Regions from separate parts of the Homo sapiens genome. Here regions 1 and 3 are each linked to region 2. Evidence: promoter capture Hi-C in 16 types of primary human blood cells and fetal thymus (Javierre and others, 2016). All regions are on one chromosome and are shown on one strand. Each heading gives the region's core, a stretch centred on a gene start or on the middle of the fragment in contact. The rest is flanking DNA. Distances are from core to core; before and after follow the strand shown.

Region 1 (3,412 bases), core at 68-2,567, 400 kb before region 2:
ACCCACATTAAATGTCAGACCATAAATTAACTGTCAGTAAGAAATGCTAACTCAAAGTTCTCCAACTTTTGACTTTTACAAACCTATAAACCATTCGTTAAATTAGATCACAGCTGTCAACTTTTTATTTTGCCAAGTAAAGCATTATGATACAATCACTACCCACTATCATTACTATCTCATAAAAGAAAGAACATTTTAAACATTTTCCATTCAAATATTTATTGAGCACCTACATTTTGCTAATACTGTCCTAGGCACTGGAGATACAGCTGAGAAAAAGAGAAATTATATCTGTCCTCAAAAAGCTTGATACAAGAGCACACTTGATAAAAATAAAAGGAAAAAAATAATCTCCAAAGAAAGAACAGTTCTCTAAATTAAGCTTACATTAAGACAGAAAAATGTGAAGTTCGTTTTTTTTTTTAACAATTTCTCCGTAGACTTCATTCAAGTTCATTTTTGGTCTGCTTTCAGGAATCTTTAGTTAACCAGCTATGTTTAATCTACATATTGCAGGGCCAATTGTACATTAAGGGGCGCTCAAGTAGTTTTGTACAGAAATATTACTCCACAACATTCCACCTCCAACCTCAAAGGAGATGTCTGCTGATGAGTTTAACTATAATTCTCTCAACTCTCCCCTCTTCGCAAGTATTCTCCGTGAATGCATCTCATTCCTAATGTGTGAAATCTCTCCGAGAGACAAGTATTAAAGTTTCAGGCCAAATCGGAGAGCACCGTAATCCTAAACCAAGTAAGTGTCACAACTGGGGAACATAATTCCCGACAGAAAAGAGGCCAAAGAGAAAGGATTTAGAAACATCGTGATTCGGAAACCACGAAGCCAACGTAAACTGCTCAGACTCCGGCACTACTGTCAAACACTACTGGCAAACCAAGACCCCTCCCAAACGCCATCTGAGGTAAACCTGAGAACCCTGATCCTTCTCAAGGCCCAAACCTGACAGGAAAAATAAAAAATAAAGCCATGCAAGCAGAAAAGCCAACTCGACCAAAGACACGGAGGGCCCAAGTTAAAGCAAGGAAATGAAGGGGCTGCTGCAGCCCTCCCTCAGACGCGATGCTCACACAGCTCGGGGGAGGGTGTCTGTGTGTAAGCGAGAAATTAAAGAAGCAATCTGCAGAAGGAAAAGTGGAGAACGCCTAACGGTTTTTTTGTAAAGATCCCAAGTCAAGAAGCAGCGTCAGAATCAAGTCGCCAAGCCTTACCTCAGCGCTCGGGTGTTTAAAAGTATCTAAAAATAACAGCTCCATCGCCGAGTCCACCGCCATGTTTGCCGCGGGCGGGGAACAGGGGGGAGGACTTCCGGGGCAGCGCTCCAGCCTCCGCGACAGCGACTCAGGAGAGGGAGAAACAGAGGGACTTCCGGTGACCAGAGCACTAGCGCCGCAAACCTCGGCCTATCCCAACGCATCTTGTTGCCCGGAGTTGCCGGCCCCGCCTTTTCCAGCGCGGCGGAGGGCGCCCCCTAGAACGCAGAGGGGGGGCAGAGGGAAGTGAGATGGGGACTACGGGGTCTCCAGTGGTTCAAACCCTGTCGTTCCTCCGCGTTACAGAGCTACAGCGGTCTCCGGGTGGCGAAGTGCGGAGACGGGGTTTTGGAGACGGTGGATGGAGGAGGGGGAGGGAAAGCTGCCAACTTTGGATACCAACCCCGTACACCCACCGAAGGGGATGTCCCACTTTTTCCAGCGCTGGGAGCAAAAAGATAACAGTGAGCGAGGTTGAAAAGTAAGACATTGATTTAAATAGAAGAAAAACTGTTGTTTCAACCAACGAAGAGATTCTTTGTTTTCTTATCTGTAAAATGTGAAAAATCGTACCTAACCTACAGGGTGATTGTGAGGAGTAATTGAAATAAAATTCGAGGAATTGTGTAACGTGAAGTACCATGAACAATAAAACAGGAGGCAGAATGAAAAGTAAGCCTCTCTGTCGGGTGTTGATGAGCTTTGGAGCAACGAGATAAACTCAGCGGGTTTGGTAGTCTAAATGGCACAAACCCTTAGCAGAGCAACTAGGAAATAGCTTGTAAAATTACACGTGCCTACCACTCTTCTAGGAAAATTCTCGCCCACGTATCTACAAATACAAGAATATTCATAGCAAACTTTATAAGTTGCAAAAGAGCAGGAAACATAAGTGCCATTGACAGAAGTAATAAGTAAATAGTGGCGTATTTATATAATAGTATATAGCAGGTACGAAGAATGAACCAGTGCTATGTTTACTAGCATGAAAAACCCAAAAAACAGGGTTGGTGGGCGCTTTGGCTCACGCCTGTAATCCAGCACTTAGGGAGGATGAAGCGGGAGGATCGCTTGAGCCCAGGAGTTGGAGAACTGCCTGGGCAATATAGCGAGACCCCGTTATTCACAAAAAGAAAAAAAAAAGACACAAACCAAAACAAAACAAGTTTAACTCCTCTCATCGCAAGCCGGGTGCGGTGGCGTGTTCCTGTGGTCCCAACTTCTCGGGAAGCTGAGACAGGAGAATCTCTTAAGCCCAGGAGTTGGAGGCCAGTGGGGACACCCATCTCTTAGAAAAGGAAATAAAAAATATATAGTGTAAAATAACATCTATATATTTAAAAACGTGCAAAAGAATATAAAATTTTAGGAGTGTACATATGTCATGAAATTATAAAGTCATGTATTGGAGTAACTAAAATTTCAAGATAGTGGTAAACTGGAAGGAGATGTAATGGAGAAGAACAGAAAGGCTTCACATGCCTTGGTAATGTTTTGTTATTTAGGTTAATGTTAATTTCACAAGCATGCCTTATATTATTGTTTGTACCTTCTGGTATGTCTGAAATATTTAATAATAAATGAATTTCTAAAGTAAATCTCCTCTCCACATCCTTCCTCAGCCATCCAGTTTCCTCTATTAGCTAGCTATAGTTTATCTTTTATTATTTGTTCTTGCATTGATATTTATTGCTTTTAATATTTTTCTGTTTTCTGATTCTTGCCTCTTTTTTTTTTTAGAAACAGGGTCTTGCTTCGTTGCCCAGCCTGGTCTCAAACTCTTGGCTTCAAGCAATCCTCCTGCCTCAGCCTCCCAAAGTGCTGTGATTATAGGCGTGAGCCACCGTGCCCCCCCCCTTCTTCTGTGTTTAGGCTTATATGCTGTTCTCTAATTTCTACCACTGATGTTTATTTTTATTCATATTTCTTATTTATTACTATATGTATTTATATAAATTTTCCCCTAAGCTCTCCCTTAACCAATGTACTATATAGTGCTTTTATAGTTGTCATTTTTACAGTCTGATTTTCTTAGCATTGATATCCTTTTTTTTTTTACATTTTTATTTTTATTTCAACAGTTTTGAGGGAACAGGTGATGTTTGGTTGCATGGAAAAGTTCTTTAGTGGTGATCTC
Region 2 (3,238 bases), core at 124-2,623:
GTTCAGTGACCCCAAGGGTCACATTGTTCCCCCTTTTCCCAAAACTATTGTGCATTGAGAAAAGGCTTTTTTAGCAATAGATGCCCAAGTCCTTGGGAGTCACAGTTGTAAAGAGGCTCTTCCTTAATCCACTCTGTATTGGAATTAACCTACTGAGCAGATATAATCAGAAAATACAAGCAAAACAGACTCTCCAGGTAAAATTCAGCTGCCACTTTGAAATACAAACACCATTTCCTTTTATTAATTGGCTGTGTGGCCTTGAGCAACTTAATCTCTCTGTGCCTCGGGTTTCCTATGTGTAAGATAGCCGGGCCTATTTCATATAAGGTTATTATGAGAATCAACTGGGGCGATAAAGCAAAGCCCCCAGCATAGTATATGGCACATACTCAGCGCTCAGTAAGCGTGAGCGATCCAAAGGATCTAAATGTTAAGGGCCAAGGAGAGCGCTCTTTCCACAGGTGCAAAGTCAGGTAGCGAAGACTGAGTTCAAGCCAGGTCAAGCAAGGGACAGGCCGCGGACAGGCGGGGGCCGGTGGCCGGGTCACGGAGCAGGTTCCCCATAGCCGCAGGGCCTCCGGAACTCGGAGGGCAGGCGCAGGGGACGGGATCGCAGGGCGGGGACAGAGCGCCGGGCCACAAGCCCAAGCGCCGCTGTCTTCGGAGATGCGTCCCGGGGGTGGCCGCGGGAGCCCCGACGCCGAGTCCCGAAGGGGCGGCCCCATCCAACGGCCGAGAGCAGGCGGAGGAGGAGGAGTGGAGGGGAGTGAGGAGGGGTGAGAGGAGGAGGTCCCGCCGCGGCCAAGAAAACAAGCCACGCTCGGGGGAGGAGGCAGAGACCAAACTCCCAACCGCCGCCCAGCGCCGGGGCCAGGCCGGGCCCTTGTCCGCGCCGCCGCCGCCTCTGTCAGCCTCTGTCCGCGCCCTGGGCCCCGGGGGCCGCCGAGGACCGACCCACTGGGTGGGCGGCCGGGCCCGGCGGCGGCGAGGGGAGGCAGCGAGGGGGCTCGGTGAACGCGCAACCGGCGCCCCGAAGGCAGGGCGCGCGGCCGGCCCCGCCGGGCTCAGGAGCGGGCAGCGCTGCGGCCCCAACCGGCAGCGAGGCGGCCCTGGACGGACGCCCGCCCGCCCCCCCCCGGCACTTACGTGGGCCCGGGCCGTGCGGGGCTGCGCGGGGAAGGGAGCGGCCGCCGGCTCGGCGGGGAAGGACGCGGGCGGGGCGGGACTGCTGAGGTAGCTGCGGTGGGGCCGGGCTGCGCTGCACCTCGTTCAGGTACCCAGACGGCAGGCGCGGGGCCGGCTCCAGCCCTCGGGTCGCTGCGCCCAGGCCGGCCAGTCCAAGTCCTTTTGTTGTTGTGCAGCGCTCGCAACAGCTGATCGGCCGCTCCGCTCGCCGTCGGGCCCCGCTGCCCCGCCCCGGGCCGCGCCAGGCCGGGCCCCACCAATCGGCGGTGCGGGGGCCCCGGGGCCGCCCTGCGAGAGGTTGTCACCAACGCACGTGACCTGGCGCCCGGCCGGCGGCGCGCTCAGCTCCGAAACAAGCCCGGGCAACAAAAACCGGGAGCTGAGCGTGAAGGCCTGGGCGAGCGGAAGGGTGGGAGAGAGGGGCTAGGCCGGGGAGGGAAGCGCTGGGGCCGGGGCCGGCTTTCCAGGAGCCGGCGGGAGCGGGGTGCGTAAGAGGCGGGCGAGGAAGAACCGGCGGGCAACGGGAAGGGCAGAGGTGGATCTCTCCCTCAGCGACCCCTCTCGCCGAGTGAAGGGTCGAGGGTTTGGGGCACAAAGGGCGCAGAACGTTTTTTCCTGTGAGAGGAACATTAAGACTCCTGGGAGGGCTGGGGCTAACGCCTCCGAGAGCCCCACCTGGTCAGCCTAGGGTTAGACGTGTAGCCAGGGTGCTGGGAGGGGGCCGCTGCTGGGCCCCAGATAGAGGGGTAGAGGCCGCTCAATCACGGAGCCAGGCCCCACCTGCTGTAGAAACCGCCACCGAGAGCCGGCCGGGCTTGCTGCACGCTCTGGATTCCGCCTGCCTATAGGCGAGGCACAAGGGACTGCGAGACCAGGCCTGAAGGCAGAGAGGTCAGCAGGCTCGGGGGCCTCTGCTCCAGCGGACAACAAGCGCACCGGGCGGGAACGGCCGCCTCCCCAGGCGCTGCAGCCTAGCTCTCATGTGACCCACGGAACTTAGCCCCTCTGTTCTGTTTGCATACCTGCAAATTGTGGGCATTCACGCCGGGACTGCCAACTCACCAGGTTATTTATAGTGACAAGAGAGTGAGACAGTGGGCTTGAAAGTGTTTTCCAGACCAAGGCTCTGTCCCACATATAGGTGGATTAACTGTCTGGCAAAGGCAGGTGAGTAACGTTGATGCCTATCAGCTCTCATGTGGATACTGTTTGGACTGGGATGTAGTTCTTTGACCTGGGGTGAGCTGTATAGCAACCCTGGAGGGATGCCTATCACACATTACAGTATCTGAAAGACACTCACATTCTGACCCTCACAATGTAGTCAGTCCATTTCCAACAATGCTGGTTTTAAAGGATGTAAATTGCAGTGCAGGGAGTTGTCAGACACCAAGGAGTAATGATCAAAATATGATGGTCATTGGACCTTATCTTGGGAGAAAGAGCTAAAACTGTGTTCTAGATAGTCTCACAGACTTGAACATGCTTTGGATTTTAGGTTTTTGCAAATCAGGCTTGTTCTAATATTTTCTCCCACATGCTATGGTAGGAGCCCCATGATCTCTTGTTTCTCCCTAGGAATCCATTGAAGAGGCCATCTCCACATTCAGAACCAAGGTATGATGACAATTACAAGGGGCTAATTTTTAAAAAGAAAAAGGCCTACCTTTTTCCAGTTTGATAAGGTTTATCATGGTTAAAGCAACATGTGAAATCATCATCTTGTTATGATAGAAAAATTCAATATGAAGTAGATCATTTTTCCAAAGATGACCACAACAGTATCTCCATCATGAAGTGGGTGTATTTTTCTTCCCTTTGAATCTGGGCTGACCCTGTGATTGCTCTGACCAATAGAATGTGGCAGAAAGAATGTTCTAGGACTTCCAAGCCTCGTCATTAAGCAAAAGCATTAAGCAAACCCCACAGCTTCTGCTTTGTACTCTGGAAAATGCCAGCCACCCATGAGGAGAGACCACCCTGCTAGCCACAGGGAGAGGCTATGTGAAAAGAAAGAGATGCCTGGCCAGCTCTAGCTCTTCAGCTCATC
Region 3 (3,525 bases), core at 79-2,578, 360 kb after region 2:
AAAAAAAAAAAAAAAAAAAAATTGCAAAAAATTAGCTGGGCATGGTGATGGGTGCCTGTAGTCCCAGCTGCTCGGGAGACTGAGGCAGGAGAATGGCGTGAACCCAGGAGGTGGAGCTTGCAGTGAGCCGAGATCGCGCCACTGCACTCCAGCCTGGGCGACAGAGCGCAACTCCATCTCAAAAAAAAAAAAAAAAAAAAAGAACTTGGAACAATAACTGGCAATAGTAATTGCTCAACAAATGTTAACTATTCTTATCACTATTATTAAAGGTCTCGGGAGAAAGGACAGATTAGCTTCCCCCCAACCCAAAAGGTAAAATATTTAATGAATATACTTTATAACGTTAACTTGAGAGAGAGATGTTTATGAACCTTGCAGTATAGTAATTCATAGATATGGAGTCTATCATGCTTTCCCTCGACTTCAGCTTCTTTGGTCTCTCTGACTTCTTGAATTGTGGGTCTTGGGTGAACTTTAGAAGATCTGCAAGGCAGTGTAGCTCAGTGTGGAAGGAGCCCTGAAGCTGGAGCAGACACCTGCTTCCAGTTCCGTCTCTGCTGTTTATGGCCTTGTGAGCTGTGGGAGTCACTCAGATTCTTACGTGTCAAATGACATCTGGTGAAGTGGATAGTGAGAAACATTCTATAGAGGTTTAAGTATAGAATTTTAATGAAATGAGACTGGTAATGTAACAAGTGTGACATTTTATGCATGCAAAATAACCCTGTCTCATTAAAAAGTATCTTGAGAGGCAAGTGCCACGCATAACACTCAAAATAATTTGGTACTGCTTTTAGAATTGTCTTCAGATTCATGGATGAAATCCAGTCTCATAACTTTGTCACACATTTTCACTTTTTAATTTTTAAAAACTTTTAAATTTTATAAGTCTAAAATTTTTCAACATGGCTGCAAAAATAGTTTGAAGTTCCACATACCCTTCATCCAAATTCCCAAAATATTGATTTATTGTATAACCACAATATAATAATAAAAAGCAGGAAATTAACATTACTATAATACTACTTAATCTGCATACTTTATCCAGATTTCACACACTGTCTTACTAATGACCTTTTTCTGGGCGGTATCTAATTTAGGACTACACATTTGCATTTAGCTATATTTTCTTAGTTTTCTTTAATATGGAACAGTTCTGTGGTCTCTCTTACCCTTTTTGAAATTATTTGGTAGATTTTCTCCTAATTTGGGTTTATCTGATGTTTCTTCATACTTAAAGTTGTGCATCTTTGGCAAGCGGGCCATGGACGAGATGCTGTGGCTTTCTCAGCATGTTATGTCAGGAGGTGCATAATCTCAATTTGTCTTATTACTCAAATGAAACTTTGCTCAGTCAGTTAAGGCGGGGTCTGCCAGACTTCTCCACTATAAAGTTACTACTTTCTCTTTAAAAGAATATCCCGTGGTGGATACTTTGAGACTATATAAGTCTCCCTTTTCCCATTCATTCTCTCATTTTAGCATCTATAGTTCTTGCCTGGAACAATGATTGCTTAGGTGTTTGCCAAATGGTAACGTTTATGTAAAACTTCAAGCCAGTATGCCCATGGATGGTTCACTCTTACCACACTGGACTCAAGGCGACTGTGTGGTGTTGAAACTGTGGGTCGTTCCCACATTCAAATCTAGTGTCTGCAAATGCTGTTCTTCTTTCCCTGTCTCCCTCCTCTGACACGTTTTGCACTGCCTACATGGAGGCTTATCAGGCAGAAGGAAGTACATGTTCTTTGGAAGTAGCTTTGGATTAGAATTCTAGACCCACCACATACGACTTGGGTGACCCCATTCAAGTAAATTAATCTCTCTGTGTTTCAAGTGCCCAATAAATAGAGAATCTTGCTTCATGGGTTCTTTTAAAGAGTAAATAAGATACCATGTATAAAATCTTCTGCATCAAGCATGATGTGAATCTCTTTAATGTTATCTCTATTTTCTTTTTCCAATGAAATCACTCAAATGGCCACAGTGAATACAAAGGCTGAATTTTGATTCCATTGGTCTGGATGGAAGCCAGCTTAAAATCTCTGCGGCTGATTCTAATGTGCACCCAAGATTCGGAACCACTGAATTTGATGCTCACTAGCTGATTTAAAACTCTAAGATAAAATAAAATTGAATATATCTTTACTGATATCATTTTATCAAAAATGAAATATTGTATAAAGGGAGAAATTTTGTGAGGAAACTTTAGGTATTTTAGGTATTTGCTAATTCATTTATTAGTAGTTTCTTGAGCCCCTATGTTCAGGCATCGTGCTAAGCAGTGGGCATATGATGATGAGATAGACACAGTCAAGCAGCTACAGCACAGTTCAGGGCAATACAAGCTCCGGTGGGGGCAGGTACAGAGATCTAATTTGCCTTGTAAAGGAGTTCGAATTTTATCCCATCAGCGTTTGACATATGAAGGATATTGAGCTGGTGGGGAGGGGGTCATGATTAAATGTTAGAAAGACTACTCTGGTGTGTTCGGAATGGGAAGGCAGGGTGATCAGGAGAGATGGATGCTGAGGCTTTATCCTGAGATGTTACAGTGGGGATGAAAAGGTGGGGTAGGACTTGTGAGACATGTTGAAGGCAGAATGATAGGACCTAATGACCAGTGATGTAAGGGAGGTCTGATGACTTCCAGATGCCTGGGTAGATTGCAGCATCATTCATGGAACCAGGGCAAAAGCAAGGTTGTGGATGGGGATATTCCGAGTTCAGTTTTGAACCTGGGCAGTCAAGGCCTTTGAGAACATGTTATCTAGTAGGTGGTTGATAAAGGTTGATAAATGAATCCAGAATTTGGGGAAGGTATCTCCATTAAAGAGAAAGATAAGGCTCTGTGCAATTAGTATTTGAAGCTGCAGGTATGGATGAAATTGTCAGAATATGTGGAAGAATAAGAGAAAAGCCAAAGACAGATCTCAGGATCATTGGCATTAAGGGTACATTGAGGAAGAGGAGCCAGAAGAGGGGAGTCCAGGGAGCAAGAAGAGAACGGGGAGCAAGAAGAGAACCAGGAGAAGAGAGCTGCAGGGACATGAAGGAGGAGGAAATGTGAAGCAAGGTAGACCAGTCAGCAGTGCAGAGGCAACAGATGTGTCAAGTAGGGTAAGGCCTGAGCTGAGCTGCAATCACTGGACTTGGCCTCTAGGCGGGCAGAGAAGAGGTTGAAAATGTCTCCCCTTTCAAGAAACCTTTCCTGACTAATTCCACACCACTCTGTTTACTCAACTCATTAGGAGGCATTGAATGACATCCTCTCTAAGCTGCAAGTCCCCATATAGGTGATTTAATACATGCCTTACTGAACAGTTGAGGAAATTGAGTCCCAGAAAAGACATTACTTGTCTGAGGTCAAGTGGCAGATTCAAGACCTTAAACCAGGTATTTTCCACTTTTATTGGTACTGGTACAATTAGTTTACACCAATTTCCTACTTCTTCATAGGTCGCTTATTTACCCTCTGGTTATTTTGTGTTTATGTAATTTGTAGTTTTTGTTGTTTTCCAA

What was found. The method cuts DNA at HindIII sites, captures the fragments that hold promoters and counts their contacts. A CHiCAGO score of 5 or more calls a contact.
Region 1: a contact is called between the fragment with the promoter of VIRMA here and the fragment with the promoter of TP53INP1 in region 2, in 2 of 17 cell types (naive CD4 T cells and total CD8 T cells). The highest score is 5.6, in naive CD4 T cells.
Region 3: a contact is called between a fragment that was not itself captured here and the fragment with the promoter of TP53INP1 in region 2, in 1 of 17 cell types (naive B cells). The highest score is 5.3, in naive B cells.

What each region holds. Positions count from the first base shown.
Region 1 is chr8:94,552,152-94,555,563 of GRCh38, forward strand. VIRMA (vir like m6A methyltransferase associated) reads right to left here and starts at 1,318. Exons shown (of 24, transcript NM_015496.5): 1 at 1,234-1,318. The coding sequence starts at 1,296. VIRMA-DT (VIRMA divergent transcript) reads left to right here and starts at 1,562. Exons shown (of 2, transcript NR_183271.1): 1 at 1,562-1,756. RefSeq lists an enhancer at 1,012-1,631. The HindIII fragment of the contact is 4,366 bases long and covers 384-3,412 here.
Region 2 is chr8:94,948,005-94,951,242 of GRCh38, forward strand. TP53INP1 (tumor protein p53 inducible nuclear protein 1) reads right to left here and starts at 1,374. Exons shown (of 4, transcript NM_033285.4): 1 at 1,150-1,374. It also overlaps a transcript of NDUFAF6 not described here. RefSeq lists enhancers at 715-1,343, 1,344-1,973, 1,840-2,009, 2,180-2,229 and silencers at 790-929, 1,150-1,529, 1,610-1,719. The HindIII fragment of the contact is 4,012 bases long and covers 1-3,238 here.
Region 3 is chr8:95,310,263-95,313,787 of GRCh38, forward strand. All of the region lies in intron 1 of CFAP418-AS1 (CFAP418 antisense RNA 1), which reads left to right. Among named protein-coding and RNA genes, the nearest start is that of TRS-AGA2-5, 42 kb to the left of the region's middle. The HindIII fragment of the contact is 5,785 bases long and covers 1-3,525 here.